Linked DNA regions of Homo sapiens: region 1 is linked to region 2. The links are contacts of gene promoters, found by promoter capture Hi-C in human tissues and cell types (Jung and others, 2019). All regions are on one chromosome and are shown on one strand. Each heading gives the region's core, a stretch centred on a gene start or on the middle of the fragment in contact. The rest is flanking DNA. Distances are from core to core; before and after follow the strand shown.

Region 1 (5,596 bases), core at 3,083-5,582, 500 kb after region 2:
CCCTGTCCTGGCCCTCATTCCGTGAAGAGATCCACCTGCGACCTCGGGTCCTCAGACCAGCCCAAGGAACATCTCACCAATTTCAAATCGGGTAAGTGGTCTCTTCACTCTTTTCTCCAGCCTCTGTCGCTACCCTCCAATCTCCCTGTCCAGTCTTTTTCTTCTCTAGTAGAGACAAAGGAGACACATTTTATCCGTGGACCCAAAACTCTGGCGCTGGTCACAGACTCAGGAAGACAGTCTTCCCTTGGTGTCTAATCACTGCGGGGACGCCTGCCTAATTATTCACCCACATTCCACTGGTGTCTGATCACCTTGGGGATGCCTGCCTTGGTCATTCACCCACATTCCCATGGTGGCAAGTCATTTGCGGGGACGCCTGCTTTGGCTGCTCACCCCCGCCCTTCTCCGTGTCTCTACTTCTCTCTTTAAACTTACCTCCTTCACTTTGGGCAATCTTCCGCCCTCCATTCCTCCCTCTTCCCCCTTAGCCTGTGTACTTAAAAACTTCTCTTAAACTAACACCTGATATAAAACTCAAACGTCTTATTTTCTTCTGCAATACTGCTTGGCCGCAATATAAACTTGACAATGGTTCCAAGTGGCCAGAAAACGGCACTTTTGATTTCTCCATCCTACAAGACCTAGATCATTTTTGTCAAAAAATGGGCACATGGTCTGAGGTGCCTTGCGTCCAGGCATTTTTTACACTTCGCTCCCTCCCAAGCCTCTGCTCCCAATGTGACTCATCCCAAATTTTTCTTCTTTCTCTCCCGTCCGTTCCTTCAGTCTCTACCCCAACCTCAGAGTCCCCTGAATCCCCCTTTTCTGCAGACCCCTCTGACCTCTCTCCCCCTCCCCAGGCCACTCCTTGGCAGGCTGAATCAAGTCCCAATTCTTCCTCAGCCTCCGCTCCCCCATCTTATAATTCTTCTATCACCTCCCCTCCTCAAACTTGGTCAGGCTTAGTTTCATTCCATGACTAGCTCTCCCCCACCTGCCCAACAATTTCCTCATAGAGAGGTGGCTGGAGCTGAGGGCACAGTAAAGGTTCATATACCTTTTTCTCTATCAGACCTTTCCCAATCAGTCAGCGTCTGGGCTCTTTCTCATCAGACCCCACTAAATATACACAGGAATTCCAATATTTGACTCAGTCCTACACTTTAACCTGCAGTGACCTAAATGTCATCCTGACCTCTACCCTCTCCCCAGATGAGCAGGAAAGAGTTTATACCCTAGCCCAATCTCACGCTAACACCCGCCGGCATCATGAGCCAGACCTCCAAGAAGGCATCAGGGCAGTTCCCTGAGAGGATCCTTGATGGGAATACCAGACAGGCTCCCCAGGTATAGCTAGGCGAGATTACATGGTCTCTTGCCTAGCTGAAGGGCTGAAAAAGGCAGCATACAAAGCTGTTAATTATGACAAGCTTTAAGAAGCCACCCAAGGTAAAGATGAAAATCCAGCCCAGTTCATGGCCCGTTTGGTGGCTACCCTTAGAAACTTTACAGCCCTAGACCCTGAAGGGCCAGAAGGCCATCTTATTCTCAATATGCATTTTATCACTCAGTCAGCTCCTGACATTACAAAAAAAGCTTCAAAAATTGGAATCTGGCCCTCAAACCCCACAACAGGAATTAATCAATCTCGCCTTCAAGGTGTTCAACAATAGAGAAGAGGCAGCCAAGCAGCAACGTCTTTCAGAGCTGCAATTGCTTGCCTCTGCTGTAAGACAAACCCCAGCCATGCCTTCAGCACACAAAAACTTCAGAGCAACCAAACCACAGCCTCTAGGCACTCCTTTAAAACCATCTCATGGACCTTGCTTCAAGTGCCGCAAAACTGGCCACTGGGCCAAGGAATGCCTGCAGCCCGGGATTCCTCCTAAGCCTGTCCCACCTGTGCGGGACCCCACTGGAAATCGGACTGTCCAACTAATATCACAGCCCCTTCTAGGGTCCCTGGAGCTCTGGCTCAAAGCTCTCTGGCTGACTCCTTCCCAGATCTCCTCGGCTTAGTGGCTGAAGACTGATGCTGCCCGATCGCCTCAGAAGCCCCTTGGACCATCACAGATGCCGAGCTTCGGGTAACTCTTACGGTGGAGGGTAAGTCCATCCCCTTTTTAATCAATACGGGGGCTACCCACCCCACATTACCTTCTTTTCAAGGGCCTGTTTCCTTTGCCCCCGTAACTGCCGTGGGTATTGACGGCCAAGCTTCTAAACCCCTTAAAACTCCCCAACTCTGGTGCCAACTTGGACAACATTCTTTTATGCACTCCTTTTTAGTTAACCCCACCTGCCCAGTTCCCTTATTAGGCTGAGATATTTTAACCACATTATCTGCTTCCCTGACTATTGCTGGGCTACAGCCACACCCCATTGCTGTCCTTTTCCCCAATTCAAGGCCTCTTTCGCATCCTCCCCTTGTATCTCCCCACCTTAATCCTCAAGTATAGGATACTTCTACTCTTTCTTTGGCAACTGACCATGCACTCCTTACCATTCCATTAAAACCTAATCACCCTTACCCTGCTCAATACCAGTATCCCAGCCCGCAGCAGGCTTTAAAGGGAACTGAAGCCTGTTATCACTTGCCTGTTACAACGTGGCCTTTTGAAGCCTACAAATTCTCCTTACAACTCCCCTATCCTACCCATCCAGAAACCGGACAAGTCCTAGAGGCTAGTTCAAGACCTTCACCTCATAAATCAGATTGTCCTTCCCATCCATCCTGTTGTGCCAAACCCTATACTCTCCTCTCCTCGACACCCCCTTCCACAACTCATTATTCTGTTATCCACCTCAAAGATGCCTTCTTTACCATCCCCTTGCATCCCTCCTCCCAACCTCTTTTCACCTTTACTTGGACTGACCCTGACACCCACCAGTCCCAGCAATTCACCTGGATTGTCCGACCCCAAAGTTTCAGGGACAGCCCACACTACTTTGGTCAGGCCCTCTCTCATGACTTTCTTTCTGCCCATCTGCCTCCCACCTTATTCAATATGTTGAAGACCTTCTTCTTTGCAGCCCTTCTTACCAATCTTCCCAGCAGGACACTATCCTATCCTACTTCTTCAATATCTCTACTCAAAGGGGTACTGAGTATCCCCCTCTAAAGCTCATATTTCCTCCCCTAGTGTTACATATCTCGACATAGTCCTCCATCAACATACACGCACTCTTCCTGCAGACTGTGTTCAGTTAATCTCCCAGACCCTATTCCCCACCACCAAACAACAACTCCTTTCCTTCTTAGGCGTTGTTGGATACTTCCGACTCTGGGTACCAAGGTTTTGCCATTCTAACCAAACTGCTTTACAAACTCACTAAAGGTAATTTAGCTGATCCCATAGACCATAAGTCCTTTCCCCATGCTTCCTTTCATTCTCTCAAAAAGGCCCTAGAAACAGCTCCCACACTAGCACTCCCTGACTTGTCCCAACCTTTTTCCTTACACACAGCTGAAACACAAGGCTGTGCTGCTGGAGTTCTCACACAGGAGCCAGGCCCACGACCTATAGCCTTTCTATCCAAACAACTTGACCTCACAATTCTAGGCTGGCCCTCATGTCTACATGTGGTGGCAGCTGCCGCTTTAACACTTCCAGAGTCTCTCAAAATCACAGGCTATGCTCCACTTACCCTCTACAGTTCTCACAACCTTCAAGCATTAATATCCTCCTCACACCTTTCACACTTGCTGTCTGCCCCTCGACATCTCCAGCTCTATTCACTCTTTATTGAAACCCCAACAATAACTACTGCCCATGGGCCCGATTTCAACCCAGCTTCTCACTTAGCACCCAACACAAGTCCTGGCCAACATGATTGTATCTCCCTAATACACATAGCATCTTCCCCCTTTCCTCATATTTCTATTTTTCCAATCCCAAATCCAGACCACACTTGGTTTATTCATGGCAGTTCCTCTAAACCCAGTCAAATCTCGCCAGCTAAAGCTGGTTATGCTGTCGTGTCCCATACCTCTATTATTGAGGCTGCTGCACTTCCTCCCTCCACTACTTCCCAACAAGCCAAACTGATTGCTTTAACTTGTGCACTCTCTGTCGCCAAAGGAATGCACATTAAAATTTATATTGACTCCTAATATGCTTTCCACATCCTCCACAACCATGCTACCCTTTGGACTGAAAGAGGTTTTCTCACCACACAAGGCTCTTCCATTATCAATACCTCTCTAATAAAGGCCCTCCTTAATGCTGCTCTCTTGCTGGCCAAAGCTGGGTTCATTCATTGTAAAGGACACCAGAAACCAACTGATCTTATTGCTAAAGGAAATGCCTACGCCAACAGGACAGCAAAAGAAACAGCAAATGCCTCCACGCCTGCAAATATTCTAGCCCTCACCCCAAAAGGCTAGTACTTTTCTTTCTTCTCTATCACCCCCACCTACTCCTCTTCTAAAAAACCTGCTCTACCAGTCTTTTCCAACTCAGGGCAAGTGGTTCTTAGATCATGGAAAATTCGTTCTTCCTGCCTCACAAGCCCAGTCTACTCTCTCTTCCCTTCATGACCATTTCCATATAGGATATAAGCCTCTGGCTGGCCTCCTACAGCCCCTCATTTCCATCCCATCATGGAAATCCATCCTTAAAACCATCACCTCTCAATGCTCTGTCTGCCATGCCACCAACCCCCGAGGTCTTCTCAGGCCTCCTCCTTTTCCTACGCATCAGGCTCATGGATTTCCTCCGACACAAGATTGGCAAATTGACTTTATTCATATGCCGCGTGTCTGTAAATTTAAATATCTCCTGGTTTGGGCCAATACCTTCACCGGATGGGTCGAGGCCTTTCCCACTAGCTCTGAAAGGCTACTACAGTCATTTCTTCCCTTCTGACAGATATAATCCCCCAATTTGGCCTCCCTACTTCCACAGTTTCTCAGGCTCTTGGTATTCAGTGGAAACTTCATACCCCCTACCGTCCTCAATCTTCAGGAAAGGTAGAACGGATGAATGGTCTTTTAAAAACACACCTCACCAAGCTCAGCCTCCAACTTAAAAAGGACTGGACAGTACTTTTACCACTTGCCCTCCTCAGAATTAGGGCCTGTCCTTGAGAAGCCACAGGGTACAACCCATTTCAATTTTATATGGATGCACCTTCTTACTCAGCCACAATCTTGTTCCAGACACCAGCCCCCTGGGCAACTATCTTCCAGTCCTCTAGCAGGCTAGACAGGAAATTTGCCAAGCTGCTAATCTTCTCTTGCCTACTCCAGATTCCCAGCCATATGAAGACACCCTAGCTGGACGATCAGTCCTTGTCAAAAGTCTGACCCCTCAAACTCTACAGCCTCAATGGACCAGACCCTACCCGGTCATTTATAGCACACCAACTGCCGTCCATCTGCAGGACCCTCTCCATTGGGTTCACCATTCCAGAATAAAGCCATGCCCATCAGACAGCCAGCTTGATCTCTCCTCTTCCTCCTGGAAGCCACAAGATTAGGCCGAGAGCCGATCAGACAAACAACCTACAACCCTTAAGCTCCTGGCAGCGCCCAGCCAAGGCCATGCTTCCTTGCAACACTCCTTCCAAATGGCCATCCCAGCATGCTTCC
Region 2 (5,944 bases), core at 30-2,529:
ACTACAACAGAGTGGGGTTTCCCATCTTCAAGCAAACCCAAGCCTTGGGGGCATCTCAGCCGAGTGAAGCCATGCTATTTCCGTTTGGGAGGAGGGGGATCATTTTATTTCGCTGAATCACAACTCCCCCACATCCCCACCCCAAATCACCACAATCACCACCACCACACAACACTGCAAATAAAATAGGCCGTTGCAAGGACGCCGGCGAGCACGGACCGAGCAAAACAAAGCGCCCAGCAAGGGGCTGCCAGGCTGAGAGTGGGTGCGTCAAGCGGGCCAAGCTCGCCTCCAGGGCACCGCTCCCGCCCTGAGGCCTGGCCTCAGACCGGCGTGCAGCCGCAGCCACCTCCCTCCGCAGGGGACCTGCCCCTTTCTCCGCAGCACTCCGGGGACCGCCGGGAAGGTGAAGAGATGGGGGTGGGGGCGCGCTGCCCCGGCCCAGGCAAAACGACCTGGGTGCCAGAAGGAGAGCGCGCCGGCCCCGGCCCACGTGAGCGCCGCGGCCGAGCCCGCCTAGAGGACCGCGGACCGGGACAGCTGCGCTCGCGGCCCCCGCGCCAGGCCGGGACTTACCCGGGCCGGGCGCGCCGCGGACCCCGCGGCGGCCGCTTCCTCCTCCTCCTCCTCCTCCTCACTTAACAAAATGGCGGCGGCAGGAAGTGCCGGGCGCCTCGGCCCGCCCCCCGCCCGCCCCCGACCGCCGGCCCCGCCGCGGCGCCCGCGCCCCCCACCCGCGCCCCGCCGGCCAGCCCAAGCCCGGGTCCGACGGCACCAAAGGCAGGACAGCCGCGAGCGACCCCGCCGCCCCGACACCAACGGCGCAGGCCGCCCCGGCCCGGAACGAACGGCGCGGGAGGCCCGCAGGCCCGAGCCCGCGTAGCCCCGGCCTCCCCGCCCCCGCGCCGCGCGGATGGCGTAGGTGGCGGCGCCCCGGCCCCATTACGCAATGCAGGTTACGCGGACCGCGCCGCGAGCCTCCGCCAGCCGCCCAGTGTCGTCCGCCGCCCCAAAGGGCACCAGTCCTCACCTGAGACGCTAGGCCGCACGCCGCCCCCGCCGGCCGTCCGCCCGCTGCCGCCGCCCCCTCCCCGAGCTGCCTGCGCGGCGCCGGGGCCCGCCCGCCGCTCTGCCGAGCTCACAGGCCGCGCTCGCCCGCGGGCACCGCCGGCAGCCGCCGCAGCCGCTGCCGCCGCCACTGCTTCGGCTCCTCGGCTGCGGGAGACCAGAACAAACAGCCCAGCCGCCGCCGCCGCCGCCGCCGCCGCCGCCAGCGCACTGACGTCACCGCGCACGCTGCGCGCGCGGCCCCGCGCCGCCGCCGCCCGGTGTGCGCGCCCCGCCCCCGCGCCCAGCGCGAACGAGCTCTGGAGAGACAGTGGCTGCGAGGTGAGTGGGGGATACCGCGGACTGAGGGAGGAGACCCCGCAGAGCGAAGGAGCGGGCTGGGGGAAACGGGCGGACTGCAGGCTGGGCCTGCGGGAAAAGATCTGAAGGCTGAGAGAGACATCCAAAATACTAAGAAAGGTCTGAAGACAGACCCTCACAGGGAGGGAGGATGGTGAGGAGGGACCCCACAGACTGATGGAGGAGGCGGAGGAGAGAGCCCTAAGGGGGGACCCCAGGTAGGGAGGCTGAGGCGAGAGAGCTGCGATGGGGGCGCCGGGGCTGGGGTGAAGTGGAGGAAAGGAGGTGAGAGGAGGCTGCGAGCAAGGCCGAGGCGGATCCTCCTTGGCTGCCCCTGGGCAGGGAGGTAGCACCTTTCTCCTCTTATGCCCCCCTGTTGATCTTCTTCCAACCCACCTTTTTAAAAAAAGGGACATGGTCTTGCTCTGTCCCCCAGGCTGGAGTGCAGTAGTGCAGTCATAGCTCACTGCAGCCTCAACCTGCTGGCCTCAAGCGATCCTCCTGCTTCAGCCTCCCAAGTAGCTGGGACTACAGGTGTGCACCACCACACCCAGCTAACTATTTTTTGTAGAGATGGGATCTCACGATGTTGGCCAGGCTGGTCTCTGTCTCCTGGACTCAAGCGATCCTCCTGCCTCGACCTCCCAAAGTGCTAGTATTACAGGCGTGAGCCACCGCGCCCAGCTCCTTCCCATCCTTAAGACTCAACCCCAAGTCAGACCAGGCTCGGTGGCTCACACCTGTAATCTCAGCACTTTGGGAGGCAGAGGCAGGAGGTTGGCTTGAGGCCAGGGGTTGGAGACCATCCTAGCCAACAGAGTGAAACCTCGCCTCTACTAAAAATACAAAAATTAGCCCCGTGTGGGCCGGGCGCAGTGGCTCACGCCTGTAATCCCAGCACTTTGGGAGGCGGGCAGATCACGAGGTAAGGAGATCGAGACCATCCTGGCTAAGACGGTGAAACCCCGTCTCTACTAAAAATACAAAAAATTAGCCGGGTGTGGTGGTGGGCGCCTGTAGTCCCAGCTACTCGAGAGACTGAGGCAGGAGAATGGCGTGAACCCGGGAGGCGGAGCTTGCTGTGAGCGGAGATCGCGCCCCTGCACTCCAGCCTGTGCGACAGAGCGAGACTCCGTCTCAAAAAAAAAAAAAAAAAATTAGCCGGGTGTGGTGGCGCATGCCTGTAATCCCATGCCTGTAATGCCAGCTACTCAGGAGGCTAAGGCAGAAGAATCACTTGAACCCGGGAGGCGTAGGTTGCAGTGAGCCGAGATTGTGCCACTGCACTCTAGCCTGGGCGACAGAGCAAGGCTCTGTCTCCAAAAAAGAAAAAGACTCAACCCTAAGTCAGCTCCAGGACGTATGTGCCTACTCTACATGTGTGAGTCCGAGGGGAAAAAACATCATATGACCTCTTCTAGGGCTTCCAAAGCACCCCACCTGGCCACGGAAGAGCTTAGTAAACATGGGGTAGTTTTGAGATTGCTAAAAGGAGGAAGTTAGGCATATGTCTCTTGTAGCTTAAAATAATACTGTGAAATTTTTCAAACCTGGAAACAACCACTTCTCTTTCCTTTTATATATATATATATTTTTTTTTTTAAGACAAGATCTTGCTCTGTCACCCAGGCTGGAGTGCAGTGGCTGGATCATAGCTCACTGTAACCTCAAACTCTCAGTCTCAAGTGATCCTCCCACGTCAGCCTCTTTAGTAGCTGGGACCACAGGTGTGCGCCACCGTGCCCAGCTAATTTTTGTATTTTTGTGGAGAGGAGGTCTCACCATGTTGCCCAGACTGGTCTTGAATTCCTGGGCTCAAGCGATCCACCTCCCTCAGCCTCCCAAAGTGCTGGAACTACAGGCGTGAGCCACCGCACCCAGGCCATTCTCTTAGCATTTTGTATTCCCATCTTTTAAAAATGGAAAGCAGGCTGGGCGCGGTGGCTCACACCTGTAATCCCAGCACTTTGGGAGGTCGAGGCAGGTGGATCACCTGAGGTCAGGAGTTCTAGACCAGCCTGGCCAACATGGTGAAACTTCGACTCTACTAAAAATATAAAAATTAGCCAGGTATGGTAGCGGGTGCCTGTAATCCTAGCTACTTTGGAGGCTGAGGCAGGAGAATCACTTGAACCCAAGAGGCAGAGGTGGCAGTGAGCTGAGATCGTGCCACTCCACTCCAGCCTGGGCGACAGTGAGACTCCATCTCAAAAAAAAAAAAAAAAAAAAAAGGAAAGCAAACTCAGTTCTAAAAAGTCTACATGGGGCCAGGCACAGTGGCTCACACCTGTAATCCTAGCACTTTGGGAGGCCAATGCGGGTAGATTACCTGAGGTCAGGAGTTTGAGACCAACCTGGGCAACATGGTGAAACCCCGTCTCTACTAAAAATACAAACAAAATTAGCCGGGTGTGGTGGCGGGCACCTGTAGTCCCAGCTACTCAGGAGGCCGAGGCAGGAGAATCGCTTGAACCTGGGAGGTGGAGGTTGCAGTGAGCCAAGATCATGCCACTGCACTCCAGCCTGGGTGACAGGGCAAAACTCCGTCTCAAAAAAAAAAACAAAAAAGTCTGCGTGGTATTTTTTTTTTAAGTCCAAGTAATGAAACATTTCCTGATGGCCCATGGTTTCAGAATATATGGATATAATAGGATACCAGTAAAATAGTTCTTTTCTATCATGTGTTTGCTCATGCTTAACCAGGGGCAATCATAAATCACTAATGGGTCCTAAGCAAAGTTAAAAATTAAATTTTTTCATTCATTCATGTATCTATGTATTAATTTATTCATTTATGACAGGGTCTTGCTCTGTTGCCCAGGCTGGAGTGCAGTGTTGCATTCATGGTTCACCAAAGGCTGGAGTGCAGTGTTGCATTCATGGTTCACCGAAGCCTCGACCTCCTAGGCTCATTCAATCCTCCCACCTCAGCCTCCCGAGTAGCTGGGACTACAGGCATGTGCCACTACACCCAGCTAAGTTTTTAAATTGTAGTTGGCTGGGCGCAGTGGCTCACGCCTGTAATGCCAGTACTTTGGGAGGCTGAGGCGGGTGGATCACCTGAGGTCGGTAGTTTGAGAGCAGCCTGGCCAACATGGTGAACACACTAGTCTGTACTACAAATACAAAAATTAAAGGCCGGGTGCAGTGGCTCATGCCTGTAATCTCAGCACTTTGGGAGGCCGAGGCAGGTGGATCACCTGAGGTCCGGAATTCACAACTAGCCTGGCCAAGGTGGTGAAACCTCATCTGTACTAAAAATAGAAAAAATTTGCGGGGCTTGGTGACAGGTGCCTGTAATCCCACCTACTCAGGAGGCTGAGGCAGAAGAATCACTTGAACCCAGGAAGCGGAGGTTGCAGTGAGCAGAGATTGCGGAGGTGGAGGATACAGTAGTGAGCGGAGATCGCGCCATTGCACTCCAGCCTGGGCAACAAGAGTCAAACTCTGTCTCAAAAAAAAAAAAAAAAATTAGCCAGGCATAGTGTTGCATGCCTGTAATCTGAGCCACTTGGGAGGCTGAGGCAGGATAATCACTTGAGCCTGCTTAAGAGGTGGAGGTTGCAGTGAGCCAAGGTCGCACCACTGGACTCCAGCCTGGGTGACAGAGCAAGACTCTGTCTCGAAAAAAAAAAAAATTTGTAGCCATAGGATCTCACTGTCTTGGCCAAGCTGATCTCAAACTCTTGGCCTCAAGTGATTCTTCTGCCTTGGCCTAACCCTTTATTTTTAACAAAGCATGAGAAAACAAGTTATTAGCTGCAAGAAATAAAGGATGTAATTGTAACTCCTTCATTGAAACTTCCTTCTAACTCTGTATTACAGAATATTGAAATTTGTGAATATCTTCTGGCTCCTAATTTTGCACCCCTGGCAATTATGCAGAAGATGATCAGAAATGGAAAAAGAGCAGGAGGGTACCCAGGGCTTTGTGAATAGGTATTAACAACTGGTTTGTTGTTACTGGGTTTTTTGTTTGTTTGTTTTTTTAAGGAAACCAGAATGTATCTATTTTAAGCTCTCCTTCCCTATAGTTATCTTGTCTTGCTGCATTATCCACTTAATTTATCATTGTTGGCCAGGCGCGGTGGCTCACGCCTGTAATCCCAGAACTTTGGGAGGCTGAGGCGGGCAGATCACGAGGTCAGGAGATCGAGACTATCCTGGCTAACATGGTGAAACCCCATCTCTACTAAAAATACAAAAATTAGCCAGACATGGTGGTGAGTGCCTGTAGTCCCAGCTACTCGGGAGGTTGAGGCAGGAGAATGTCATGAACCCGGGAGGTGGAGGTTGCAGTGAGCCGAGATCGTGCCACTGCACTCCAGCCTGGGTGGACAGAGCGAGGCTCCATCTCGAAAAAAAAAAATTATCATTGTTGTTGACAATAAATGTTTTTGGAAGTAATTTGGAACTGTTGGTTTGCAAATCACATAATAAAAGCCCTCACTTTACTGTAGAGTCACACTTAACATTAGACAAAACTATATATCTAGATTGATAACTAGACCGAACTAGGTGGCTTTTGGCCATTGCT

The links. The method cuts DNA at HindIII sites, captures the fragments that hold promoters and counts their contacts. A contact is called where the count stands out against the background at its distance.
Region 1: a contact is called between a fragment that was not itself captured here and the fragment with the promoter of BRD4 in region 2, in 1 of the 25 tissues and cell types used here (dorsolateral prefrontal cortex).

The regions. Positions count from the first base shown.
Region 1 is chr19:15,829,248-15,834,843 of GRCh38, forward strand. LOC124900418 (collagen alpha-1(I) chain-like) reads left to right here. Exons shown (of 3, transcript XM_047439793.1): 1 at 1-91; 2 at 2,008-2,109. It overlaps UCA1 (urothelial cancer associated 1), which reads left to right. Exons shown (of 3, transcript NR_015379.3): 1 at 1-91; 2 at 2,008-2,109; 3 at 5,255-5,596. Among named protein-coding and RNA genes, the nearest start is that of UCA1, 3.1 kb to the left of the region's middle. RefSeq lists an enhancer at 1-143. The HindIII fragment of the contact is 5,632 bases long and covers 1,517-5,596 here.
Region 2 is chr19:15,331,260-15,337,203 of GRCh38, forward strand. BRD4 (bromodomain containing 4) reads right to left here and starts at 1,280. Exons shown (of 20, transcript NM_001379291.1): 1 at 1,031-1,280. It overlaps LOC124904643 (a long non-coding RNA gene), which reads left to right and starts at 1,354. Exons shown (of 4, transcript XR_007067146.1): 1 at 1,354-1,389; 2 at 5,233-5,346. RefSeq lists silencers at 280-329, 340-489, 520-619, 820-1,049, 1,280-1,379 and 2 more and an enhancer at 1,546-2,162. The HindIII fragment of the contact is 25,776 bases long and covers 1-5,944 here.